Linked DNA regions of Homo sapiens: all the other regions are linked to region 1. Evidence: promoter capture Hi-C in 16 types of primary human blood cells and fetal thymus (Javierre and others, 2016). All regions are on one chromosome and are shown on one strand. Each heading gives the region's core, a stretch centred on a gene start or on the middle of the fragment in contact. The rest is flanking DNA. Distances are from core to core; before and after follow the strand shown.

The links. Contacts are between HindIII fragments. The CHiCAGO score rates a contact against its expected background, and 5 or more counts as called.
Region 2: a fragment that was not itself captured here is called in contact with the fragment with the promoter of FAM133B in region 1 in 3 of 17 cell types (neutrophils, fetal thymus and total CD8 T cells); the score reaches 5.7 in neutrophils.
Region 3: a fragment that was not itself captured here is called in contact with the fragment with the promoter of FAM133B in region 1 in 1 of 17 cell types (neutrophils); the score reaches 5.1 in neutrophils.

Annotation. Positions count from the first base shown.
Region 1 is chr7:92,587,777-92,592,309 of GRCh38, forward strand. FAM133B (family with sequence similarity 133 member B) reads right to left here and starts at 2,614. Exons shown (of 11, transcript NM_152789.4): 1 at 2,492-2,614. The coding sequence starts at 2,515. LOC105375397 (a long non-coding RNA gene) reads right to left here. Exons shown (of 3, transcript XR_927744.3): 3 at 4,244-4,372. RefSeq lists enhancers at 2,342-2,401, 2,492-2,771. The HindIII fragment of the contact is 8,062 bases long and covers 1,451-4,533 here.
Region 2 is chr7:92,813,346-92,817,878 of GRCh38, forward strand. All of the region lies in intron 2 of CDK6 (cyclin dependent kinase 6), which reads right to left. Among named protein-coding and RNA genes, the nearest start is that of CDK6-AS1, 21 kb to the right of the region's middle. The HindIII fragment of the contact is 2,668 bases long and covers 635-3,302 here.
Region 3 is chr7:92,766,782-92,771,314 of GRCh38, forward strand. All of the region lies in intron 3 of CDK6 (cyclin dependent kinase 6), which reads right to left. Among named protein-coding and RNA genes, the nearest start is that of CDK6-AS1, 67 kb to the right of the region's middle. RefSeq lists an enhancer at 1,760-2,299. The HindIII fragment of the contact is 8,013 bases long and covers 1-4,533 here.

The DNA of each region.
Region 1 (4,533 bases), core at 1,364-3,863:
TGAACACTAAGAGTGAGCACTAATGTAAACTACTGACTGGATGATAGTAACATGTCAATGTAGGTTCATCAATTTTAACAAATGTACCACTCTGGTGAAGGATGTTCATAATGGGGAGGCTATGCACGAGTGGGGTCAGGAGGTAAACGGGATATCTTTGTACCTTCCTCTCAATTTTGCTGTAAAACTAAAAATGCTTAAAAAAAAAAGTCTTAAAAAGAAAATCAAGAGTTAAGATGTACAGAATTGAGTGTCAGATGACTGAAGTTTTGGTCCCAGTTTAAAGTCTTACCCCTCCTCTATGCAATGAGGAGACTGAATTAGACAATCCGTGTCTTCTACCTCTTAATTTCTTGTTCTTAATCCCAATCTTTGAAGTGCACACAAAATGTTACCAGAATACTCTGTGCCATAGCTGCATACCAAAAGTAGTAAGTAGAGCCCAGAGCTATCAAAATGTTCTAGTAAATGAAGCTAATTTGGTAAGTTTTTCAAATGTTTTAGAGGAATGTTTCAACCAAAACGTTTTTTCAGTAATATGAAACATTTTAGGTCTGTATATGAAACTGCATCCAAGGTCAGGTGATCTCTAAACATTCAAGGCCCAAGGGTATTAGAAGAGCCCAAAATACTCAAACACCTAAGGATGCTCCTATGCTGAAATGGTGTTATGCTACATAATTTCAACGCCATGACAATCAAGATAGCACAACAAAGTCTCACCTACAGCCAGGAGAAAGAACAACCCGCTATCTTGTAATCAAGATTCACTACCACAGTGGTTCCTAGACATTTTCCATTATAAAGACTATACAGAACTACAAAGTTTTTAAGATGGTGAAATGGTTTGGATCTGTGTCCCCGCCCAAATCTCATGTCGAATTGTAATCCCCAATGTTGGAGGTGGGGCCTGGTGGGAGGTGACTGGATCATGGGGGCGGAGTTCTCATGAATGGCTTAGCATCCTCCTCTCCCCAGCACTGCATAGAGATGATTTCTCAACAGATGCGGTTGTTTAAAACTGTGTAGCAACTCTCCCCGTCCCTCTCTTGGTCCCGCTCCTGCCATGTAAGACGCCTGCTCCTGCTTTGCCTTCCACCATGAGTAACAGCTCCCTGAGGCCTCCCCAGAAGCAGATGCCGCTAAGCTTCCTGTACAGCCCATAGAACCGTGAGCCAATTAAACACTTTTCTTTATAAATTACCCAGCCTCAGGTTTTTCTTTATAAAAGCCATGCAAGAACTGGCTACTACAGATGGCAAGTGTCATCATTTCGTAAATGTTAAGTCTCCTTTGGTGTGAGACACACACAGCTTGCAAATAATTGTTGAATAAAAAAGCGAGTTCAAGAAACGTAGCACATTCGTTTTACGTGCATTTTCCTCATTTTGCTACTCAGTGGCTAAAACTTTGTCACAGGCAAGCCCAGAAATTGTCAGGCTGCAACCTAAGCTTATTGTTATTTCATTATGTTTACTACTCATTCAATCTGATTCATAACCTGAGTTTTTCAGCCCCCTCCCCGCCCCAGCGGTCTAGAATACTTTCCTCCCATCTCCGCTTCTCAAAAGCACCTTTTCTTTTGAATGCCTTTAGAATCTCTAACAACTATCAAGGACCATTTCCTACTCTTTCTGCTGTAAGTTATTTATGCATCTCTTTTATCTCATTCACTAGAGTAATAATTTTCATGCCCAGTACTCGCTCACACATCTTGCCTTTTGTGATTTCAATTAATCTGTAAGGTTGTAGATAATAATGATCCCCTTTTATAAACGACGGCACAGAGAAGAAAAGTAACTTGTTCTAGGTCACCCAACTTCCGACGGAACAAAACTGACATTCCAGTTTTGTGTTGGACTCGAAAGCCAACTATTTTCACGCCATTCATTCCCTCACAGTGTCTATGGGGGCCAGGTCCTACAGGGCGCTGGAGACACGAAAGCAAATGCTGCCATCCCATTTTCAAACGGGAGCCTGCTTGTCGCTAAAACCAGGCGCGCTGCTGGCTCTCCGGCACAGGGACCGCGTCGAGGCCTCTGTGCCTCCCTCCCACTTGGGTGCGCAGGAGAGGGGTGCGGACCTGGGGCGGCCGATACCAAGGGGCGGGTGAGTCGGATGCGTCCAAGGGCCTAAGTCTTCGGAGTTACATGGCGGGGCCAGGTGTGGGGGGGGTTCCCCGAGCCCTCGCGGTTCTAAGTGGGCACTGGGGGCCCGCGTACAGCAGGCAAGAGTGCAAACCAGCAGCGCCAGAAAGAGCGACGAGGTGAGGGAAGAAAAAAGGGGCGGGCAAGAGAGAGCTGGGAACCCTAAAGCGCCAACTGCGTGCGCGGCGCACGCGCATCTGGGATCGGCGGAGGGTGCTGGGTCTCCAGGCCCCACGTCTGAGGGCTGCCGCTTGCCCTCCGGCCCGGCCGGGAACAGCGAGGGTTCTCGCTGTCCTGCCGCCGGGCCCTGCGTCGCCCCACTGTTTTCCCGGCTGAGTACTCACCACCCGATTGTCCCGCTTCCCCATGGTGCTGGATCGAGCGCACAGTAGCACGCCGAGGGAAACCGGGCCGGAGAGACTGCCGAAGAGGGCCTGCCGCAGGTCCTCTTGCCGCCTCCCCACTCCGCCTAGAGAGCGGCACCACGCGGACTCGACGGCCGCGCTCTGCTACAGCGCCCCCTATCTCTGTGGAGGACAGGCCGGCTCCAGAGATCGCTGCAGTTGGCGGAGCGCCTGCAGGAGTCCGGTCGTTCATTAGGCACCCAAGAGCAGGCGACGCTGCGCTTCTGCACCGGAGCCCCACCAAGGCAGCTCGCTTCAGTTTGGCCTTGGATTGTTTTGCTTTCTTCCATTCTTTTTTTTTTTTTTTTTTTTTTTTTTTTTTTTAGACAGACTCTCGCTCCGTCGCCCAGGCTGGAGTGCAGTGGCACGATCTAGGCTCACTGCAGCCTCCACCTCCCGGGTTCAAGCGATTTTCCTGCCTCAGCATCCCGAGTAGCTGAGATTACAGGCGGCCGTCAACACGCCGGGCTAAATTTTTTGTATTTTTAGTAGAGACAGGGTTTTACCACGTTGGCCAGGCTGGTCTATAACTCCTGACCTCAAGTGATCCGCCCGCCTCGACCCAAAGTGCTGGGATTACAGGCATGAGCCACTGCGCTTGGCCTTTCTTCCATTCTTGATACACTGAAATACTCATTCGAGGGGACACAAAGATTCTCCCGATGCTTATTTTGTGCTTGACAGAGTGCAAGTGCTGGGGACAAAGTGAGGACCAAAGAGCCTTGGTCCCTCACGGAGCCCATCAGCTGGTGGGGGGAAAGGCAGTGCTGTCATAGACGCTGCTAACGAAATCACCCTTTAATTTCAATCCCATTCATTCATCACCTGTGCATTCATTTCACACTAATTTTTGAACATGTAGTTTGTACAGTTTTCACTAACTGGGTGGCTGGAAGCTGGAGCTGGGTAGGGCACAAAGATGATTAAGAAAAATCCCTATCGTCAAGGAGCCTGTTTATAAACTCGTAAGGGCAATAAACACACACAGGGCCAACTTTACTGCATAGCATATCGTAATATTGGCACTACTGCACTGCAACTTTAAGGAAGATGATCTGGGCTCCAGAGAAGATAATCATATTTAGTAAGTATTTATAGATAAAGCGACCCCTCTGGGTTCATCTTAGCAAGTATCATTAGGAAGTAGTTGAAAATCAATTAGGATCTTCTCCGGACTCTTGGAAATGGCAAAATGGGAATTACACTAATTACATACAAGAACATGCTTTAAAATCATCTTTCCCGATCTCTGCCTCCCTCCCTCCCTGCATTTTTCATGCTACACTATATGACAGATGCTCCCAACTACCATCTTCTGTCTCAAAACTTTTCCAAACTCTCACATGCAGTCCTTGGTGGTTCTGCTCCCTACTAAGTGTTGATTCTTCCTCAGTAACCCACTTTCCAAAATGAGGCCTCCAGTCTCTCATTTCTCCTCCTCCTCCATTACCCCCGACTTAAGCTGGGGACTCTGACTGAAGACAGGCTTCTTTTTATACACAAGAGGAAGAGGAGAACCTATTAATATTAAGTTATTCTTTCTTTCCTGGCTTATTTTTCATGTTTTAAATATTCTAGGCATTTGACAGATATTATTTTTAATACTCCAACATGATAAGCATGATAATACCTGTGAGAGAATATAGTTTTTTTTTTCCCTCTTCAGCTCCTTCTTACCTTTCACTTCCTTGGTTGGCTGATTGTACAGAACACAGAGATTTTTAAAAATATGGTATAAGTCAACAGAAAGGTTGTGTTTCCTTTAGAAGTCTCTCTCTCTCTGCGAGTGTACACAACCCCTCCTGGATGAAACGTGAATCCCTGGGGGGACAGAGAAACAAGAAAATGACCAGGGGCCTGTGAAGATAAGGAAGATGGCAAGAGCTATCGGGAGCTCATCTGAGTGGACTACATAAAGAACAAATCAGTCCAAGACTTCTCAGGATATAATTCAGTGACAGTAGAAATCTTTACACATTCTC
Region 2 (4,533 bases), core at 719-3,218, 220 kb after region 1:
TGCACCAAAGCTTTCTTCATTCAAGCAGTTGGTTTTGTTCCCTAACTGGTCCCCCACATATCTAAGTGCAATGAGTACATTCCCAACTCCTACTGCCAAGTTAAAATGAAAACGTTCTCAGTCTAGAAATGATTGAGGTGGTTTTCTTTAATCAAATTAGAGCAGCCAAATGTTCCTTTCAAAGGTAACTGTCTACTCTGCAGCTGTATGCAAACTACCACATCAAATGTGAGGGAAAAAATAGCGATAGAATTGTGTCCTTACAGTACAGAGCTAGCTGCAGAGATGGAGAAACAAAAGCATTTGTACAGTTAAGAATTACATTCACAGTGAGCTTCCAGAAATATGCTGACTTCACAAACTGTGAACAATGTATTGAAACTTCCAGTACATAATTAGCTATTTTGGGGAGGGGAGGAACATGGGGGGAAATGCCCCCTTAAAAACGGCTAAGCAGCAATAGATACCTTGAGTCATTTACCCTCCCAACCAAAGTTTCTCAATGAGAAACATTAAAAGACTGGCTGAGACTTCATAGGAAAAAAAAGTCTCATAGACCTTGCTTTTTCACTTCCTGTCTCCATCAAAAACACACCACAGTGAGTAAACTTGAGTATCCCGCAAGCTTCAATTAAGCTTGTAATGATTCATTTGCATGCAGAATTTATTCTTTTAAATAATCAGACATGGGAATTTCCTGCAAAGAATTAATTCATAGTGGGCTTATTTTTTCAGTTTGTTTCCCTTAAGAAAAATCAATTGGCTAACATTCCCAATATGATGTCAAATTAGCTTTTCTATGTTACAATTTATATCAGCTGTTGGTTTCAGGGATGGTATATCAACAGTATGAAAACCTAGAAGATGACAATGAATTTATATAGCCAGGTGCAATCAGCAACAGAAGAATGAAACAATGTTCTTTCTTCAATTATGGATCCTCTCCAGATGGTTATACTGTCCTCTAAATTAAGGAATGTGGAATAAATAGGGGAAAAGTATATCTCATGTGATCCCAATATTTCTCCAGAGCAGCTGTTCTTAAACTTTTTTGCTTCTGGTGAAATTAGCAGACAACTTCCTTGGTTCACATGCCCTTTGACATTACCCAAATTTAAGAACTGCTGCATAACAAAAACTTCCCGCAGGTAATAAGCAATTCTTGGGCTGCAGCCCTTCTGCTCCCAACCAGGAAAGCAAACTGAATTGCAAAAAAAAAAAAAAAAAAAAGACATTTTGATTATTCAAAAATTTATTTTAAGAAGTGTAATCAGACTTCCAGTTCAAAATGGTGGACCTATCACAAATATTTGCCTCCATTCTTTCTCAGTAAAAGAAATAAACCCATAATTACAAAAGGGCGTCCCACATACACAAAAAGGAGAGAATTTAGTAAATTTGCTGGGTGACTGAAAATAAACAGAAATAAGGTGATGGAAGAAGTCACCAAAGAGATAGTAGTCTCCAAAGTGAAGAACATATAATCAGGAGATGTATTAAGAAAATATCTTCTATTTTTAGGTATTTTGTACCCCTTCATTTCAAAATCATTATTTTTATTAAATATATAATAATATATCTGTATATGTACATAATTTTTATAATTCAGTGAATATCAGTGACATGCTCAAATATTTTTACTAGAAGGGAGGCCACTGCCCTAGAACAAGCCATGAGGGCACCGTGGAGGAAGCAGAAGCTGGACTACGAGTCAACAGGTGCAATGGAAAAAGGGAGGAAGAAGGGCAGCCATTTTCTTCCCACATTCAGGGGAGTCAACTAAATGTCTGTATATAGGGTAACTGCACCAGTTAGCATTCCTATTGCCATCCCTGTACCTAAGATCTTGGAGTAAACCATTTCTTATTGTGACATTTGAGAGTTTTTCCACATCCTGACAGCCATTTTTCCAGCCACCCAAAAGTAAAGCCTGTGAAGCATACTCCCATCCCAAGATTCCTATGCCAAACAAGTCTCCCAAAAATTTTACTCAGAAATGAGAGCCAGCAGGGAGGAAAAGATCCTATTTAATAGTCTTACTAGCTAACCAGTCTTTATAAAAACTAATGGACATACAAGGCAGTAAGGGAGCAAGAAGGTCCAGACTTCTTACCTGCCAGAAACAACTAGAAACTAGATAAACATATGAAACAACTGCTTTCAGATATTGGACTATAGGTAGTAGAGGACTGTGATCCCTGAGAGAGGGGAAGCAAATGAGGTGAGCCCTAGATTGCCCTAGCTTTCTGTTTGGAGGCAATTTCCAGACCACAGGTACAGGAAGGAGGAACCTCAGAGTTCTGTAAATTCTGTAGTCTTGCCCAGCTGGGTAGGCAGAGATCAGAGTTGAGAAGACAAGGAGGCCAAAGTGGCTAAAATTTGGAAGACACAATACTGAAGAAGAGCTCCAGAAATCTACATGGGGTCTATTGAGTCCCTGGCTGAATATTAAGCTACACATGTGGAACTGCATGAAGTCAAGAAAGGTCAGCTTCTGAGAAAAGATCACCAAGGAGTTGTAAGATGAATGATTCCAGAGCTCACAGAGGGCAGAAAATGTTTCAAACTCCTTACCAGCCAAAGAAGAGAGACTACAAAAGAGTAATGTCTTAGTAGGGCTAAACTAGCCTGGAAGCAAAGCCTACATACACTAGATCCTCTCCCCAACAACAAAAGAGACAAACTAAAAATAAGCCTTGGAAGTATAAAACTGAACCACACATAACTTTACTGCCTGCCAGAACAAAATCCAATTCTCTTTAAAGGAGTAGAACAAAATCCAGCAGTTGACAATGTCATAGTCACAATGTTTGGCATCCAATAACACATTATTAGACATGCAGCCATACAGAACATGACCCATAAGCAGGAGAAAAATCAGTCAATAGAAATAGACTCAGAAATGACAGAACTTATGGAATAGCAGACAAAGAAATTAAATAAACTATTATAAACACTACAAAAATGCCCAAGGCCTTAAAGGAAAACATGGACACAGTGAGGAGAAAATTGGAAATATATAAATAAAAAATCAAATGGAACAAGTACCAAGATAAGCTATATGTTGGACCAAAGCAAGTGTTACTATCTTTAAAAAGTATTAGAATCATACAGAATTGTTCTCTGATCACAACAGAATTAGACAGAAAGAAATTAGAAAAATCCCTTACATGTTTGGAAATTTAAGAATCCATGGATTAAAGAATATATAACTAAAAATGGCTTAAAATAACCCAAATTGAATGAAAATTAAGCCACAACATATTCAAATTTGTGGGAAGATGCATATATTTGAAGATCCAAGCTTCTATTTTAAGAAGCTAAAACTAAGAACAAATTAAACCCAATGTAAGTAGGAAAAGAAGATAAAAACAAAATAAGTATCAAGAGACCACAGACAAACAGAAGTGAAAATTAATGAAACAAAAAACTGGATTATCATCAATAAAACTGACAAAACTCTATCTGTATGTCAAGATAAAAAGAGGAAAATGCAAATTACCAATATCAGGAATAAAAGAGTGGACATCACTACATATTCTACAGACATTAAAAAAGATAAGGAGTTAAAGAATCTATACCAATAAACTACCACCCCCCCAAAAAAACCCTAGGATAGACAAATCCCTTGAAAAATACAAAATTATAAAAGGTGATCTAACCTATAAGGTCTCATATCTATTAAGAAAATATAATTTGTAGTTAATAACCTACTCAAAAATAAATGCTAGGCCCAGATGACTTCATTAGTAAATTCTGTTAAATGTTTAAGAAAGAAAGAATGCCAATCCTACACAAAATCTTTCAGAAAATAGAAGAGGAAGAAACACTTCTCAACTCGTTTTATGAAGCCAGCATTACCTCAGAACAAAAATCAGAGTTATTATAAAAAAAATTATAGGCCAATATCATTCATGAATATTCTTAACAAAATTTTAGCAATATATAAAAAGGCTACATCATGACCAAGTAGGGTTTATCCCAGGAATGTGAGCTTGGTTTAACTTTCAAAATTCAATCAGTATAATTCACAGCACAATAACAGAGTTTTTAAAAAAATAATCAATTCAATTCTTCAGAAAAAACACTGACAAAATTCAGTACCCAATCATGAAAAACTCTCTAAGCAAACTAGGAATATAAGGGAACTTCATCAATCTGATAAAGGACACCTAGGAAAACTTACAGCTAACATCATACTTTAGGGCAAAAGTCTGAATAGTTTTCTCCTTATTATTGGGAACAAGCCAAAAACATCTGCTCTCACCACTTTTATTTGACATTTTTCTAGAGGTTCTAGCCAGGGCAAAAAAAGAAAGGAAAAGAAATAAAAGACATATATATATATAGGGGGGAAAGTACAACTGTCTATTCTCAGATGATGTGTCTGTGTATGTAAAAAAACTAAAATTTACAAAGAAGCTACCAGACTAATAAGGGAGTTTTTCAGATCACAAGACACAAGGTCACTATACAAAAAAGACTATAGCTCTCAATGACAAACACTTAAAAAGAAAAAACAATGCCTTTTAC
Region 3 (4,533 bases), core at 1,049-3,548, 180 kb after region 1:
TGTAAACAGATTCAATGCCTAGGGTGAGGAAGCATTTTCTAAAGAGATTCTAACTTATCTGTTATTAGCTGAATCTAAGTGTCATTTGCCTATTTAGTGAGTCATTATTTATTTAGTGAGTCAGTCTTACAGTACCTTTAGAAAGAAACTAGCTTTTCTTAAACCCATATTTCCTATCCCCCTACCACCACTATCAACCCCCTGTACCCCACCAAAGGTTCCCTTGGCTCTGCATAGCTCTGCCCCAGCTTCCTTTTAGTCCCTGGCTTTAGGCTGTCTCCAACCTAAGTCCCAAGATTCTTTCATTTTTAGTTCTGCTGCTCTTTTACATTAATGTAGCTTTTTATAGGATTGGAGATTTTAAAAAACCTACTAAATAGCTGTTATATTTTTTGTTAGGATACATACACATGCATAATTCTGTCCTCTTTCTCTTCTGATATTTTCAGCTACTATAAGGGTTAGGAATTTGCAAAAGGATTTATTTCTGAGAGTCTTCAGAATCTAGACTGCATAAAAATGTTCTCCTTTAAGAAGTTGCTTGAGTTACTGAGTTTTCCCTTGGAATGAAAGATACTTGAAAGCACAATATGTATGTTCCTGATTGGAGCAGAGGGAAACAAATGGAAATTATTAGTAAGATTACACTGAAATCTTACTAATTAGAAAGGTTACACTGAAGATTTTATTTCTCTCTACACTTTAGATCTGGGCTTCTGACTTTAGTAGTATAAACTCCCACAGTTGTTAGAGCTCACTCACTCTACATTTCCCCCTGAATTTGGAATATACTCAGTATTGACTCACTATTCTTCCATCCTTCAAATCATCTCTCCTATTCCACTCAGTGGTCAGCTGCTGGCACTGCTTTGATTTATCCCCCTGTCTACTCTCAGGCTGGCTGCTTAATTTTTGCTTAGCAGTATAGTCTTTAAAAAAAAACCCCAAATTTCAAAACTCTCAGTATGTGTGGGGGCAGAGGGGTGCAGAGTGGGGAGGGGCAGTAAAGTTGTGGTTTCTGTGGAGAAAATATTTCTTTGGAGTCAAAAGACTATATTAAAAGCTCGTCTTCCACAGAATATAGGTCACATTCCTGGTAAAAGTTTGGATGCCTGTTTTTTAAAAAAAACAGAATGTCTCTAAACACCATAGTTAATATACTATAAGTGATATACTTTGAATAAGGCATAATAAGGGTCTACAATGTGCATAAATCAACTAGGTAAAACATTATAATAACCAATACTGTAAAAAGCTACATTAATGGAGAAGGGCAGAAGAACTAAAAATGAAAGAATCTTGGGACTCAGGTTGGAGAGAGCCTAAGGCCAGGGTAAGCTGGGGCAGAGTTCTGGAGAGACAAGGGATGCTGAAGGTGGGAGGCTGATAGCGGTGGTGGGAGTTTGTAGAGGGGTAAACAGTGAAAACAAAGGATATAGAAAACACAGGGTCTTGAGTGCCAAAAAGAAAATAAACTGGGAAACCACGTTCGCAAGTTAAAAGCCTTGAAAGATCTACTATACTGTGAGGAGTGAACTATTTTAAGTCAAATTGCTGTAGGTTAAGGCCCATCTTACAGTAAAAGATGGCATCACTGATCTATGAGGTCTTTTAAACCAGAACTATGTTATTCCAACATTCGACTTTGCTTCTTTAAAGAGACTTTATTGAACAGTCCTCTCAGGTGTCTTTCACAAATGTACTTTCTTTTTAAAATTATTTCCTGTTACTATGAAAAGTAGTTTGCATCAAATACCAGGAGAGATGTGTGTGTGTTTTTAAAAACATGGTCTATTCAATTAGTGCAGCTATGATATTAGATTGAAAAAAATTTCCTTCCAAGATCTTTATCATTATGGTAGAGTATTTGTTCTTTGAATTTCTTGCCTTGTTTTTGGGATCACCTTATTATGCAACATCTGCTCTGAATTTCAAATGTGATAAACAGAGTATGAGTGTCGGTGGCAGATGGCTAATGACCAGCAGCGACAGGGCATTCAAGCCTGCCTTGTTTTCTGGGAAGCGATATTTTCATGTTAATTTGCTCTGTGTCCTGCAAAGATGAGACAAATCACCTGCTCGTAATTCAGGCAAAATGGAGACCACCAGGAGCTGAGAGGGGCCATGGCTTGATTCCTTTAGGAGTGAGAAGAGAAGAAGATCTGAGAGGCTTTCCTCATCTGCAGTACAGGGACCAGTCAGTCACTTTGCATTATGTCAAACTGAGAAAGATGAATCAGCCCTGGGCATCCCATACTGACATCAGAGCCACTGTTTACTGCAAGCAGATATTATTCATGAAAACAGACATTTCCCAGAGGCAAAAAACAGGTGCTATTAACAGTGTGTGTCAGTTTCTGAAGTCTGGGTTTTGTAAAATAAACCTAATAGTGTGTTTTATCTCTTACTAAAAATATTACAACCAATAGAAAACTCTAAGAAACATTCAATTGAAGATAAAATGAAATCTAATTCACAGAGAAAACGACCCACACAGACATGAACCTGGAGCTTTTCTGGCCCTCTCAAGCTCTATAGAATTCATTTATCATAAAGATACATAAATAAAAAAAATTTTATTCCAAGATTGAATCATCAAAAGAGGCCATATGGTCTTGAGCTCAAAGAACCCTGTCCTATTTTAGAGGCTGCTGTTCTTTTGTGTGACCTTTCAGTGCCTCAAACTTGTGAAACTATATTGACAATTGCATCAAACATTTTTTTTTATCAAACATGTTTCATGCACAGAATGTCCACAGAATAATTTTAGGTTTTCAAAGAGTTTATAAAATAGTTGAGAAGCCAGGTCATATCCTAGGAAAGATTAATGTATTATACAGACAAGACTAAATACCAAATGAATGATTTAGTAAAAGAGGGCATTACATTTGGAAAAGCCTGTACAGGAGAATATTTTACATAAGAGTCTCTCTCCATCTGTATCTTGCAGTGTACAGTTCTTATTCTGGGTGGCAGTTACAAATTACTAAGAAAAATGGTGAGCAAATTTCTTTACAGTTCTTTCTGACCCTCTCTCATAGGATGGCAGATGAAAGCATGAAAGAGAAAAATAAAAATCTGAGAGCTGTTTTTTTTTCTCATAAAGCTCCATAAATGGAAGGTGCTATATAAGCATAGATACTCTGAATTTATCACGTACTCTAAAAGAAAAAATAACACAATCATTAAGGTGTCAATTATTGCCTCATAAATCTCAGCATGGAAACCCAGGAAGGCAATATTAAATCTCAAATGAGCCAATAAAAATTTAATAAAGATGGCACTGAACTCCTCCACAAGTAAACAGACCCAAAGATAATATCCTGAATTAGAAAGAGGAAAGCCAGATATGTCAACAATAAGTCTATGAGGGAAAATTAGAATATCTGTTGACTTCACAGGACAGCAGCCAACAGGCTGCTTTATGCAAATGTCATTGTCAACCAAGAATGGATGCACCTAAAGGACATCAAGAAAAGAGGTTAAATAATGTGATGAAAACCCCAAGATGAAGTATGAATGTGATTTCTATGTATGCTTTTTTTTTTTTTTTTTTTTTTTAGAATAAGGTATATTTAATGATGTTGGAAAGAATCACCTATGATTTTATTTTATTCTCATGAACTTCTCAATGAAAATTTTCAGTTCAGGCCTATACTCTTAATGTACTTTATTAAAGTCCCACATGAGCACCGTGCAATAATTAGAGTTTCCCCAATAAGTTTACCCAACTATCAACCTTTATTAGTACTTATGGCTTATGGTGTGGTTTAATGTCTTTTTTATTTTTCGAAAACAAATGGCACTTAAGTGCACTTCAAAAACTGTTAGGTGATATAAGTAAGCTAGAAAAGTAAGATCATCATGGGCTCTTTTCTAACAAACGTGTTGATGAAATGATAAGCAAAATGATGTTACCCCTATGATATCTAGTAAGACACCATGGAGCATCCTAGTTTTATCCAAGTACTGCCCAACTAATGCAATTTATGTCCTGAATGTGCATTAGAATATCCTGAGTTTCAGTGGCCTGTTAACTGGTAAACAGTGCCACAGAAAACACAACACTGGGTAGAGGAAAGTGGGTAGAGGAAAATCCCCTGAGCTTAAATGATCTTAGATGAGGTCTTGTTTTGATTTTCTATTTTATATATATTTCATGTTAAAATATCTGGCCAGGCATGGTAGCTCATGCCTGTAATCCCAGCACTTTGGGAGGCCAAGAGGTGGGCGGATCTCGAGGTCAGTAGTTCGAGACCAGCCTGACTAACATGGTGAAACCCAGTCTCTACTAAAAATACAAAATTAGCCATGCGTGGTGGCCCGTGCCTGTAATCCCAGCTACTCAGGAGGCTGAGGCAGGAGAATCGCTTGAACCTGGGAGGTGGAGGTTGCAGTGAGTTGAGATCGCGCCACTGCACTCCAGCCTGGTGACTCCGTCTCAAAAAAAAAAAATAAATAAAATAAATAAATAAAAATAAAGTATCTTAGATATGTGACTCCGTCTCAAAAAAAAAAAAATAAATAAAAATA